Linked DNA regions of Homo sapiens: regions 1 and 2 are each linked to region 3. Evidence: promoter capture Hi-C in 16 types of primary human blood cells and fetal thymus (Javierre and others, 2016). All regions are on one chromosome and are shown on one strand. The core of a region is centred on a gene start or on the middle of the fragment in contact, and the rest is flanking DNA. Distances in the headings are between cores, read along the strand shown.

Region 1 (3,882 bases), core at 183-2,682, 140 kb after region 3:
AACAATCAAATTATCTGGCAGTTCTGTAATACAATAATAGTCTTAGGTACTATGTAGCTAGATGAAGCCAAAACAGCTCTCCTTTTGTAATGTTTTTTCCTCTGTCTTCTTTTATTACCTCGAGCAATAACCTTTCCCCCACTCCAAATCTACTACAGGCTTAGAAACATTAATATCAACCTTCACCAGAAAAAAAGCACGTATTTTCATTTTTGTCTCCACTATGAACAGGGTTCTAGATACCGTAAGCTACTGGTTAACCTTCAGATAAAGGATGGCTTAAACGTGGTTGATGAAAATTCATGGGAGTATAGAAAACCACAATATGCCACCCTAAAAATATGCCTCTTAGGCATAAGGATTGTTTTGAGTTGAATGCAACTGAGAAAGAATAGATGCAGGAAAACTTTCCGTCCTCCCTCTATTGCCTAGAAGCAGAATATAAATGTATAAAGACAAAAGGTAGCCCACCCCACTTCCCTACACCATGAAGGACAAAGATTACCCACTGAAGAGAGCTTTGGGCCTTTCTGGGCCTCTAGATGGCACCAGAGGAATCAACACTGCCAAGCTTTACTAAGGAGCCGCATCTGCCAATTTTTTGCTTCCCCTCACTTGCCACCCCTAGAGACTCAAAGTCCTTTTCCTTCATCTTGTCACTTCTCTAAAAATTTATTATTCTTTGTTGAAGATTCGTTGGAATTCAAAGCCACCTCTTTGAAATTACTCATTCCCTGGGTATCTCCATGTATATATGAAATATGTACTTTAATAAACTTTTGTTTTTCTGTTGTCTTTTATTAAAGGGTTCCATTTTAACTAAAAAAAACAAGGGTTGAGAACAAATTATTTTCCTCCCCTACAGTGGTAAAACTAAACTGCTGTCTTTAAAAAAAAAAAAAAAGGTTATATATGCCCATCAAAAAAAATGTAGAAAACTCAGCAAGGTAGGAAGATAAGAAATAAGAGTTATAGCTGCCAAACATAAACACAACCAATTCCAGAATGTCTTTCTCTGAAAACTGATTTTGCTTACCTGTTCAATTACAGTTTTCAACCACCACTGAGGACCCATCAATGTTATAGCTGCAATGATTTTGGCATGCAGGACTCCAAGTGCCCAGTCCTAGGGAATTAAAAACCATTTAACATATTTCTGTTGTTTTTTAACAATAAACACAGCAGAGAGGCTGTATAATTTTCTTACATTATTTCACATCAAAATAGAAGTTCTATAGGATTGGCAACAATTTTACAAAAGACTAACGTACTGAAAACCCAGAGAATTTTTTTTCTTCAACAGCTCAAATTCAATGTTTCCATCAAAAATTGTTCTTCTATCTTTTAAAAATCTATATTGTTTTCCCAAGAGTTAGAGAAAGTCTGGTCATTAATGGATATCTCAAAAAGCAAATAAAATAAATGCCAAGATTTTATTTCAAACTATCTTTAGGCTATTTCATTGGTTTCAAGTGAGCTGATTTATGTCAAATTAAGACTGTGGAGCAAAGTTTGGCCTAAGAAACCATTCTAAAGGCTCACAGATAGCTTCTAGCTTGAAGCATTTGTGGTTCTACTGGGGAACTGTTACTAGGTTCCTCCTCATGGTGCAACGGACTCTTGGCCTGCCCACCCTCCAGCTCTCCACCAGACAGAGTGATGACTACTTCCTCCCTCCCCACAGCCCCCTTCCCCACCACCACCAAGTATCTCTTTAAATGCAAATCAGATCATGAACGTAACTTCCCTGCTTAACAACCCTGAAGTCCTTAGCAAGGCACACAAAACCCTTTATAACCTGGTCTCTATCTAGCTTATTTAAAACAACAACAACAAAAAACGGTATTAAAAAAAAAAAAAGAAACCACATGTAACATTTAGACTGATTCTTACATAAAACCAAAATCTTTACAGAAAAGACGGGAGTCCTCTGTGATCACTACCTTAAATCCTGATCCCTCCCCAGCAATAACCACTATTAGCTTTTGGTACATACCATCCATGTTTTTCCCCATGCATTCAGCTGCATCTATACATCTATATCCCATAGAAAGTATGTAGTATCATTTTCATATGGACTTTGCTCAGATTGTTAATTCTCCTCTTCACTGTCTACCATCTTGAGGCCAATGTTCCCATTTCTTTACTGGTTTGATTGGTTATTCTAAGGATCTTCTTCAAATGGGGTGAGAGGTTGATACATACACTGAATTCTTGAATACCCTCAAATATCAATCTTCACCCTGATAGGTGAACAGCTAAATGATTTTTTGTCTGGGTAGAGGAAGCTTGGCTTTTGTCCCTTTTACCCAGTCGTCTATAAATTCTCTGATCTTATGGTTTTCAGTGCTACAGAAAAAAAGTCCAATGACAATGCAGTTTTTTGAAGCTTGTTTTGATTTCCCCGTGTCTAATAAGATATACCCAATTACGTGTTTTTATCTTGGATCTCAATCTTACCAAATCTCATGAGCCCCTTCAAACTACAGAATCAGATCTTTCTTCAATTCAGTTAAATTTTCTCCTGTTTTTGTATCAATGCTGCCTCACATTTGTTCCTTCTGGAACCCCCGTTATCAGTACGCTAAGTCTCCTAGATGTTTCCTCCAAAACATTTCTCTTTCTCAATTTCCTCTTCCGTTTTGCCCAGTGCTTTGCATTCATCTTCCAAGCCTCCAAGCCAAGCCCAGTGGTGACTGTCCACATCTTTTTTCACTACTAGATTTGTCTGAAATCTATGTCATACAGCTCCACAACAACTGCGTTCTGCTTTAGAGCTGCTGTTTGTATGTGCGTGTGAACATACTGCACTCGGCGTCCGTGTATTTCCTCTTCTCTCTGGAAGCTCATGGCTCTGCAAGCAGTGCTGTCAAACTGGCATGTGTTCTGACTGCTCTGCCTTAACTTCCTTTCTGCGGCTGCTAAGCCTCCTGCATATAAAGCACTTGTTATAATTTCCTCTGCAGCCTCAAGGAGGCTTGGGCCTGGCTGAGAATATCCTAAAGGGCTTCAAAAGGATCTTTTACGTCTTCAGACCTTTGGGATAGCCCTCCAACAGTCTCCTACTGAGGAACATGAAGAAAGCCTCCCTGCTTTTTCTCACAGGCAGGGAAGATGCAACAACCCACCAATTCAGCTTTCTCTTGGCCTTCTGGGAGTCCAGCAGACACCCAAATGAGATTAATGTTTACCCAAGGAGGTCCAAGATCACTGTGATTCGCGTTCTCCAAAAACCCACTGCTTTGCAGTCCTCTCCTGCCAGACAGGACACACCACACTAGCTGCTCTGCTAGAATTCCAACTGGCCCACTATCCCACGGAGCTGCAGCCACTTGCTGCAGGAAAGGCAAGTAGCTTAAAGTCATGAATTAAGAAAAAGCAAACTGTTCCTTCAAAAACTTGGGGGTTTAATGCAAAACATTAAGGATAGCACGCTGCACATTATCTGTCTACAGCTTGTGCTTTCCCCCAACTCAGAAACACGTCTGGGAGCTATCGATATCAAAACAAATATCTCTACTTCATTTTTTCAATTGCTGCATTGATATTCCACATTTTATTTGGGCATTCTCTATTGGTGGACATCTAGATCACTTCTCATTTTTTGCTATAAAAAATGATGTATTTGCAGAAACAGCCTTGCTCATGCCTCACAGTAGATTCTGAAAAGCCAAACTGCTGAGTCATAATATATAAGCATTTTTAAACTTTGATAGTACCAAAGAATTCTCTAAGGTGATGATGATTTCAGAAGTAATGCTGAGTACTGTAAAGACCACCAAAAATACAAGTATAACTAGAACAAGTTGCATTTATTACTCATTGCAGCAAGGGAGTAACACATCATGGAGAACTTGGGGCCCCTCAGTAAGAGTGCTAGAA
Region 2 (3,765 bases), core at 491-2,990, 140 kb before region 3:
AGACTGAGGGATCACAGGCAACGGGCTCTAGAATCAGTGAAAGGCCACACAAACAGAAGACAGGTGTTGGTGCTCAGTTCTATTAACCCAGAAAAGACCAAGATACAATTTGGGGAAAATTCCCTGATTACATTTGTTCTATTCTGCTTTGCCAAGGGTTTCACTTAATTGAATGAATCCAATTTTACTCTATACAGATAAGTGTATAGAGCTGACCATGGCATCTCCATGTAATCCAGGAGTAATCTTTTTACCTCCTGACAGTTTTACCGTCTTACCTGTTTCTAATCCATTTCCCTTTCTTGGCAGCAGACTGGGCGACAGCACAGAGACACATAGGAAGTGGTGAGCGGAAAGTGCCCATGTCTCCAAGGCAAATACACATTCCAGAGCACTCAGAAAACTGCAGAGGGCTTTATGTTTTCACACTGAAACTCATGGTGGCAAAAATTGAGCTGATGTGAGGATATTTATGGTCCCTAAATCCTACTTAGTGTAATATCCATACATTTTGCTGTAGAAAAATTAATGGGTTTGAATATGGGGTGCTGCCCAAGCCCCTCCAGAACTGTTCACTATATATGATTTTTATAACATATTGCCTTTATAAAACTTGAAAAATCCTGAATTCTGAAACCTATGTAGCCCCAAGGGCTCCAGGTAAAAGAGATCAGGGACTATAAAGGAAACTCTGGGGTACAAAGGCACCTGTGGAGATGAAGGTCACCAGGCTGGCTGGTATTTGACAGGCAGGACGCCCTGTTCCCAGGTTCAGGCAAGAGGTTGCCCAGCCCTCGGGATGCTGCTTTCTGCCACAGCATGGTGCTGTGAATTCTCCCCCTCTTCACCGCTGCTGTATTTTTTGTGAAGCCATAGAGACAAGCCAGTGCCTGGCCCCCAGCAAGGCTGGAGAGGCAGTGAAGGCACATCCCCACAGCCACGCCCTGCGCTGTCCTCTACCTGGAGTCCTTGGGCAGCCAGCCAGGGGAAGGCTCCCTGTGCCCCCCACACCCAGGCTGCTGTGTAAAGAAGCAATTGGCATGAGCCCCAGGACACTAGCTACTGCCAAAGCCAGCAGTATTTTATGAGCCTTAAAAAATCTTGTTGTACCAGTCCGTTATGAATTATTGAATTAACACTGCATATTTATAGCAACTTCTTAATAGTTTAATAATTTATTCATCCCTTATGGATCCTTTGGCATATTTCTTTTAATTGTTAGAGTAAAGAGTTTTTTTAGAGCTAACTTCACTGGACTACTTCCTCAATGATGCTTCCAGAATACTAAAATAGAATCCTGCACAGTTGTTCCGAAGCTTAAAGCACCTGATGCGCAGCAAAGACCTGCCCACATGCGAGTCGGTGACACCCCCCCTGCCTGTGCACAGGGCTGCAACTACTCTGTAGAAGCCCACAGCCAGCCAGGCCCAGCTCTCAGCCCCAACTCAGCACACTAGCATTTCACAGCCTACACTTGGATTACGTGTCTTCTGAGACAGTTTAGGAACCTAAGCATCATTCATATTGTTTCTAAAGGGAAAAACATCTTACTGTGTCCCAACAAGTAAGCTCCCTATTTTGGGAGCACCCCTGCTTTGTAAGATGTGTCCTACTGCCCAGAGTGAGTCATTCCTCACAGAGCCCTGCTCCTAGGTGCTTGGTGATAAGGGGAATCAACAGAAACAGGCTGTTTCCCAGCATTCACTTGCAGATGACTAAACCCAGAAATTGTGGAGTAGCCTTAGGTAAGGAGACGAAAGTTGAAAACTTAAGACCCAGATTCTTCAGGCATTTGAGACTCTGGCTGAGGAGGCAAGGCATGCCAGATCGTTTATGCTCAGGGTAAGGGTGCACATCTGTCTGCATGTTACTGTCCCTTTTGCAAGGGTTTTTTTGGTCATGAGTGACATCGCACTTTATTAAAAAGACATGCTTTCTTAACAAGATGAGCTACCTTTGATGCTTAGTCTTTCTCTGGTTTAGGCAAGAGTCCTGCAAAGCCATCCAGCTGTTGTTGGCAGCTGCCAGGAGTTGCCATAAAGAAGGTAGATGGAGTTTTTCCTGTTGAATTCGTTAATTCAGGCTCGTGAATGTGGTCATTGATAACACCCCATCCCTCTTTTCCTTACCGCCTCTAGCTAATTGTGCTTATCATTTAAGCTTCAGCTCATGGCTCTATCACCATTCTCAAGTTTGCCTTGAAAAGATCTGAAGAAGTACCTGTTAGCCTGAGCTCCCTCTAAAGAGGGAGAAAAGCCAATCTTCCAGGTCAGTCTGGCAAAAGCTGGAGGAAGGGCCCATTTGCTTGGGGACTCCAGATATCAACCCATGGCCAGCAGATCCAGCTCAGCCAGATTGTCGGGTCACAAAAATAAATCCACTATCTCTAATCGCTCTTTTGCCTCTTTTGCAAGCCTTTGAGGCGGGCAGGGCATGAGAGTTACTCATTCCTAAGAAATGAGCAACAAACAGTTCCAGCTAAGCACCCTGGTTCATTCACTGCCTGGCCACGACCACAAACTTGTGCTAAGCTGAGGGTCGCTGACCGGTGATGTCATTTGGTGCTCAAAGCATTTGTTGAGTATGTGTGCGCACCAGACCATGTGCCAGGCGCTGGGCACACAACAAATTCCACCATGGTCCTTGACCTTGAAGGGGAGCCATGCGTGCAGAAGCCTAAAGCTGTGTTGTGATAAGCCTAAAGCCATGTTGGGAAGTTCTTATGGCAACACAGCTGGGAAAGTATAAGTCCTGCCCTTGGAGGGGAAGGAAAGTGATGGAAAGAGAACATGAGCCAGCCTTGAAGTTGCTGTTTATCAGCTGGCTCAAGTATCAAGGTGGAACCAAGCACAGGCAATCCGAGCATTTCTTCCATGAAAAATGAAACTTAAGTGTCCCGGAAAAGTTGAGGATCATACCAGAATTCTGTGTCTCAGCTTGGAGTGACCATGCAGCATATTTAGTCTGACATGCTTTGAGAGTGAAAGAAAGCACTGCTAGTAATAACACCAGGACCAATGCCTGAACCCAGACCGTCCCAGGGAATCAGGGACATAACCATCATCCTAGGGATAACTTGAGGCCTAATTTGCTGCCCTGAATGAAGTTCATTCTCCCTCTACTGGTCAGAGACGAGATGGCAGGGGATTGGTTGCACCACCCACTGCCCCCCCGCCCCCCGTCCCCCTCAACCTTTTTATTTATTTATTTATTTTAAGAAACTGATAGAAGACAAATACAATGTCATCTGACATTGCAATCATTATTGGAAACTACAATGCACAGTATGTTTGTACTTACATCCTTGAAAACCATTTTAGGGCTCTCAGCCCCGTTACTGAACCATAAAGATGCTGGGTTTAAAAATATTCAAATTGGTTCCTTATTGAGGCAAATGCTGAGGAAAAGCAGCAGATTGCATCTTGAGCTTGAAAAGAACTCCTCTTTGACTTGCGTTCTCCATGATACAGCTGACTTCTTTTAAATCGGTGTTGTGAGTTAGTGCTCCTGTTCCATCTTCACCTGCCTTTATTAAACAAGCAACACAGAGGCAGATGACTTCTCTGGGTGCTTTATGCATGTATCTCACTTTAAACACTGCGTTTTTTGTTTCCTTGGGAAATAAGCCCTCATAGCCAATGGTTGCTTCAGGTCTTGACCAAGTACCCGGATGCCCCAGCCAGATGCCATGGTTTGCCTCCTGGGTGTTCACCTCTCTGTGGGCTTCTTCCCTCTGGTTTCTAAGGTGACAGCTTGTTCATCAGA
Region 3 (4,059 bases), core at 1,096-3,595:
AGGTTTCTGATTACACACATCTGGGCCTGAAAACTCAGTTAAACCAAATGTAGAACTTGAGAAACAGGCCCTAGGACTTCGGGTGGAGCTCCAAGCCCTAATCACATGCCAGCCAGGGCATCTGTCGCCAGGGCTGGGGGAGGAGGCATTGCAAGAGGAATGGCAGCAGGAACTACAGGGCTCCAGGTGATGCTACCTACGGGGACGCCACCTCAGGTCTCACTGCCTAACATATGACAAGCACAGACCCTTCCTCCAAGTTCAAATGTTGTGTGATATGGTTTGGCTGTGTCCCCACCCAAATCTCATCTTGAATTCCCACGTGTTGTGGGAGGGACACGGTGGGAGGTAATTGAATCACGGGGGCAATGTAGTACAAGGGGAGAGTGACATTGGAGGGCTTCCCATCCACCTAAGCCCAGCCCAAACCACAGTCAGGGCAAACCACTTGCCCCACCCACTGCAGGATAAACCAAAGGCACAAGGTCACCCGGGTCCCCAAGTCAAAGCACATGTTTTCTGTCAGCTGCAGGCTCCTGAGCAAAAAGCATGTGCATTTGTGCTAGGCTGCATCTGCAGATACCACGGTCCTTGGACAATACAAAAATCAGGTGAGAACGCTGCCATTTGCCCACTGAGCACAGACTACGGGGAACTTGGCCACCGTGGTCACTCTGCAGTTTTCCCTTGAAGTGCTTTGCTTGGTGGAAGGTGTTCCACCAGCCAGTCCTTCTCAGGTCTTCTTAAGCCAACTTTTTTTCTTTTCCTTTCTTTTCTTTTCTTTTCTAAACATCTCGTTTTCTCTGAATCTGGTCATAACGAAAGGATAGCCTGTGCCTGCCTCCACGCCTCCTGCCCTACCCGGGTGGATGCCCGCGGCTCTGGGGCTCTCCCTATGCCCTGACTCTGGGGAGCCCCGGCTGGCATTGGCTCGCGAAGGTGACCTGCGGACAGACCAGTCAGAGATCACGTTGGCTGGTCGCGGCGCGGGCCACAAAGCTCAGCGGAGGTGGGGTAGGGGACCAAGCTGTCCCGGCGAGGGAAGAAACTGTTGCTTCCAAATCATTGCGGCTGGAGGAGCCGATCTGCGCCCCAGCGTGTTAGGACAAGGGCGGCGCGAGGGGCCCAGGGGCCAAATGGGGCGCTGGGCAGGAGGGGCTGTCTCCTGCAGGGGAGGAGGAATGGTCCCCTGCCAGGGACCTGGGGAAAGGTAATAGTCAGGAGGGGACCGGGCCGCAAGAAGCCCATCCTGGATTGCAGCACGGGCAGCCAGCGCGAATTCAGTCAGGAGGTCCACGGGGACCGGTAAACGAGAAGGGGATGCGGTGAGGACGCCGGACTGGCGTTTCTGCCGCGCTGACACCTCGACTGCTCCCTCCCCGCACCGCGTCCCCCAGCCTGAGACGGGGAAGCCACCCAGGGCACCGCGCTCCCAAACAGCGGGGAAAAGGCGCTCTGGGCGGCGGCTGAGTGACCGAGGGACCGGTCCGGAGCCAGGAGCTGGGAGGCGCGGGGATGTGGTGGGGAGGAGGGGAGTGGGGGCAGTGAGGGGGCTCAAATCCTGCGGGGACGCCCGCTTACCCTGCCGTTGCGGTCAGTCTCCTGCGCCTCCTCGACGCTCACCCCGCGCCGCACCAGCGTCCGCAGCAGCCCCACGTTGTTGGCGCAGGCGGCGCGCAGGAGGGTCGCCGTCTCCGGGACGCTTTCCGGGACGCCCTCCGGGACGCTCTCCGCGCTCTCGACGCCGTGCTCCTCCTCGTCCTCGAAAGGGTAGAAAGAGTCGTCCGAGGCGATGCTGCGGGTGTCTGGCAGACTCGAGAAGTCCTCAAACTCTTCGTAGTCAGCGGGGTCCTCCTCGACCTGCGCGCCCCGGGGTGGGGACGGCGGTGGTGGGGTCATGCAGCGCGCCCCGCCGCCCTCCGGCCCGGTCCCGGCCAGCAGCACCATGCCGGCGGCCGGGGCGCGGGCCGGGGGCCGGGGCGCGGGCAGGAAGAGCGGGACGCGGGGCGCGCGCCGAGGTCCCCGCTTCTCGCTTCTGCGTCCCCAGAGAAGCCGTGGCCCGCGCGCTCCAGCTCGGCGGAAACCGGCACCAGGCGGCTGCGCTCAAAGAAAAAAGTCTCCGGAGGCTGAGCGAGCCCCTGGGGTGGGCGGGACCGCGGGGGCTTTCCGAGGCGGGGCGGGGCGGGGCGCGGGGACACGCCTTCCCCCGGGGCCTTCCCCTCGCGCCCCTTCCTGGCCAGAGTTCAGAGCCAGGCAGGCGCTCTCTCGAGCGCGGGGACTGGGCACCTGGCAGCGTTGCCCCAGAGCTGGGGACAGCTGGCGCGGGAGAAGCAGAAGCAATCACTAAAGAAGCCGAACCCGAGTCGCGGGCGGCAAGCGGCCCCGCCCCTCCCTCCGCCGGCCCGCGGGATGGGGGCGGAGGTGGCGGCGGGGGGACGCCGGGGCGGAGCCGGCCTCCAGCTTCGGGAACCTCGGACCCCTGGAGCCGGCCTCCGCCGAGGGCGTCGGGCCCCCGGACCTGGGTGGGGCCGGTTTCTCCCGCCGCTTCAGAGGAGCAGAGCGGGTTTTCTCCCTTCGGGGGATCCCGGGCTTCGGGGCTGACTCCACCCGGCCGCGGCCGCTTGGAGGCCGGGGAATCCCCGGGGCGCTTGGCGGGCAGAGGAGCCGGGCGCGGGAGCGGAGCCGTCCACCTGGGACCTGTGCCCGGGGAGCGCTGCGGGCCGGGCCACTCTGAACTGGGGGCGGTCGGCTGCTGTGGGGGAGTCCCAGCCCGGAAGGGAGGACAATCCTCAGAGTCCCCCGTCTCGCGGAACCGGGGCCGGCCGTGGCTTGAGGGTTGGTCAGATCCTGGGATGGGGGGCGGGGTGTTCCGGAACCTCAGGGAGCATCTGAGTGGGAACGGACGACGAGGAACTCCCCGTCCCCATGCCTGGCCTGTGTCACGTGCGGGGATCTGCGGACTCACCCCCGGAGGCTGCGACTGGGCGCTGACCCCACGTCTGGCTGCCCAAAAGAGCAGGGCCGCGGGCGACAGCCGCAGTCCAGGCCCACAGCCCCTCTGGCCCGGCCTTGCCCTCTCCCCGTCAGTCCTGGCGCCGGGGATGGGCGGGGAGGAGGAGGGCGTGTGAGGATTTGCCACAGGGAGCCCTTGACTTCGGGGTAGGAGGCGTCGTGAGCCAATCTTGGGGGAAGGTCTCTGCGCAAAGGCGCGGAGGTGCGCTCGCGCCCGTCGCAGGTCAAAGACTGCGGAGGCCACCAGCCCTGTGTCCCCCTAGCCTCCTTCCTTCCTTTTTTTCCCCCGATCTTGACAGCGTGTCCACCAGCTGCCAGCCGGTGGGAGGCCCTCGCGGCCCCAAGGTGAACACAGCTAGGCTGGCGCAGCCGCTGGGGACCAGGCTTGAGGCCCACGTGCCGCTGGGCAAGCTGAGGGGCACGAGGGCACCGAATCCGAAACAGCCGTGGGAGGTGTAGGATGAGGACACGTTTAAACTGCGAAGCCGCTCGAGCCCTCGTGTCACACCGCACTGGCCCGACCCGCTGTCCTGGTCGCCTGGTCTTCCAGTGTCTCCAGCAGGAGCCAAAGGGCCTGCTGGCGGCCCCCGACCCGGCATCTGCAGGGCCCCGGAGGGTGGGGCGCGCGGGAGCACCGATTTCTGGTGAAGACGCCCTCGCACCTGGGCGGCTCTGAGCGAGCAGCGAACTGAGACTCGCTGGCCTCCTTCTCTACTCCGGGGATTCTTTCTGCAACCAAAAATAGCCCCCAGATTACAGTAAACTCTACCTTTTTGTGTAACTGACCACAGTTTGCATCAATTCCCACTGGGAATTTCCCCTTTCAAGGTTGAGGGTTGTTTCCAAAGGCCTGGGGTAGTTACAATTTCAAGTGCCCCCTGAGGGCTGAGTTGGGTTTGCTGGACCCACTGTCCTCCCAGGGAGAGCACTGCGTCACTTTACAGCAAGAGTCCCGGCTGCGGGTCACCAAGGCCCAGGTGGACAGGGCCAGGCCCTGAGAGGGGAGCACCACGCAGCCTTTTCTGGCCTCCCGTAGGCGATTGGTGC

Evidence for each region. The method cuts DNA at HindIII sites, captures the fragments that hold promoters and counts their contacts. A CHiCAGO score of 5 or more calls a contact.
Region 1: a contact is called between a fragment that was not itself captured here and the fragment with the promoter of ANKRD33B in region 3, in 5 of 17 cell types (neutrophils, total B cells, naive B cells and 2 more). The highest score is 20.7, in neutrophils.
Region 2: a contact is called between a fragment that was not itself captured here and the fragment with the promoter of ANKRD33B in region 3, in 2 of 17 cell types (neutrophils and total B cells). The highest score is 6.7, in neutrophils.

What each region holds. Positions count from the first base shown.
Region 1 is chr5:10,420,979-10,424,860 of GRCh38, reverse strand. It overlaps MARCHF6 (membrane associated ring-CH-type finger 6), which reads right to left. Exons shown (of 26, transcript NM_005885.4): 23 at 1,037-1,126. Among named protein-coding and RNA genes, the nearest start is that of ROPN1L-AS1, 19 kb to the left of the region's middle. RefSeq lists an enhancer at 2,830-3,882. The HindIII fragment of the contact is 1,717 bases long and covers 574-2,290 here.
Region 2 is chr5:10,701,017-10,704,781 of GRCh38, reverse strand. All of the region lies in intron 2 of DAP (death associated protein), which reads left to right. Among named protein-coding and RNA genes, the nearest start is that of DAP-DT, 58 kb to the left of the region's middle. RefSeq lists an enhancer at 1,173-1,895. The HindIII fragment of the contact is 844 bases long and covers 1,319-2,162 here.
Region 3 is chr5:10,562,356-10,566,414 of GRCh38, reverse strand. ANKRD33B (ankyrin repeat domain 33B) reads right to left here and starts at 2,345. Exons shown (of 4, transcript NM_001164440.2): 1 at 1,582-2,345. The coding sequence starts at 1,947. RefSeq lists enhancers at 1-390, 682-771, 1,162-1,371, 494-1,387, 1,388-2,282 and 1 more and silencers at 492-541, 1,512-1,561, 1,902-2,761. The HindIII fragment of the contact is 7,834 bases long and covers 1-4,059 here.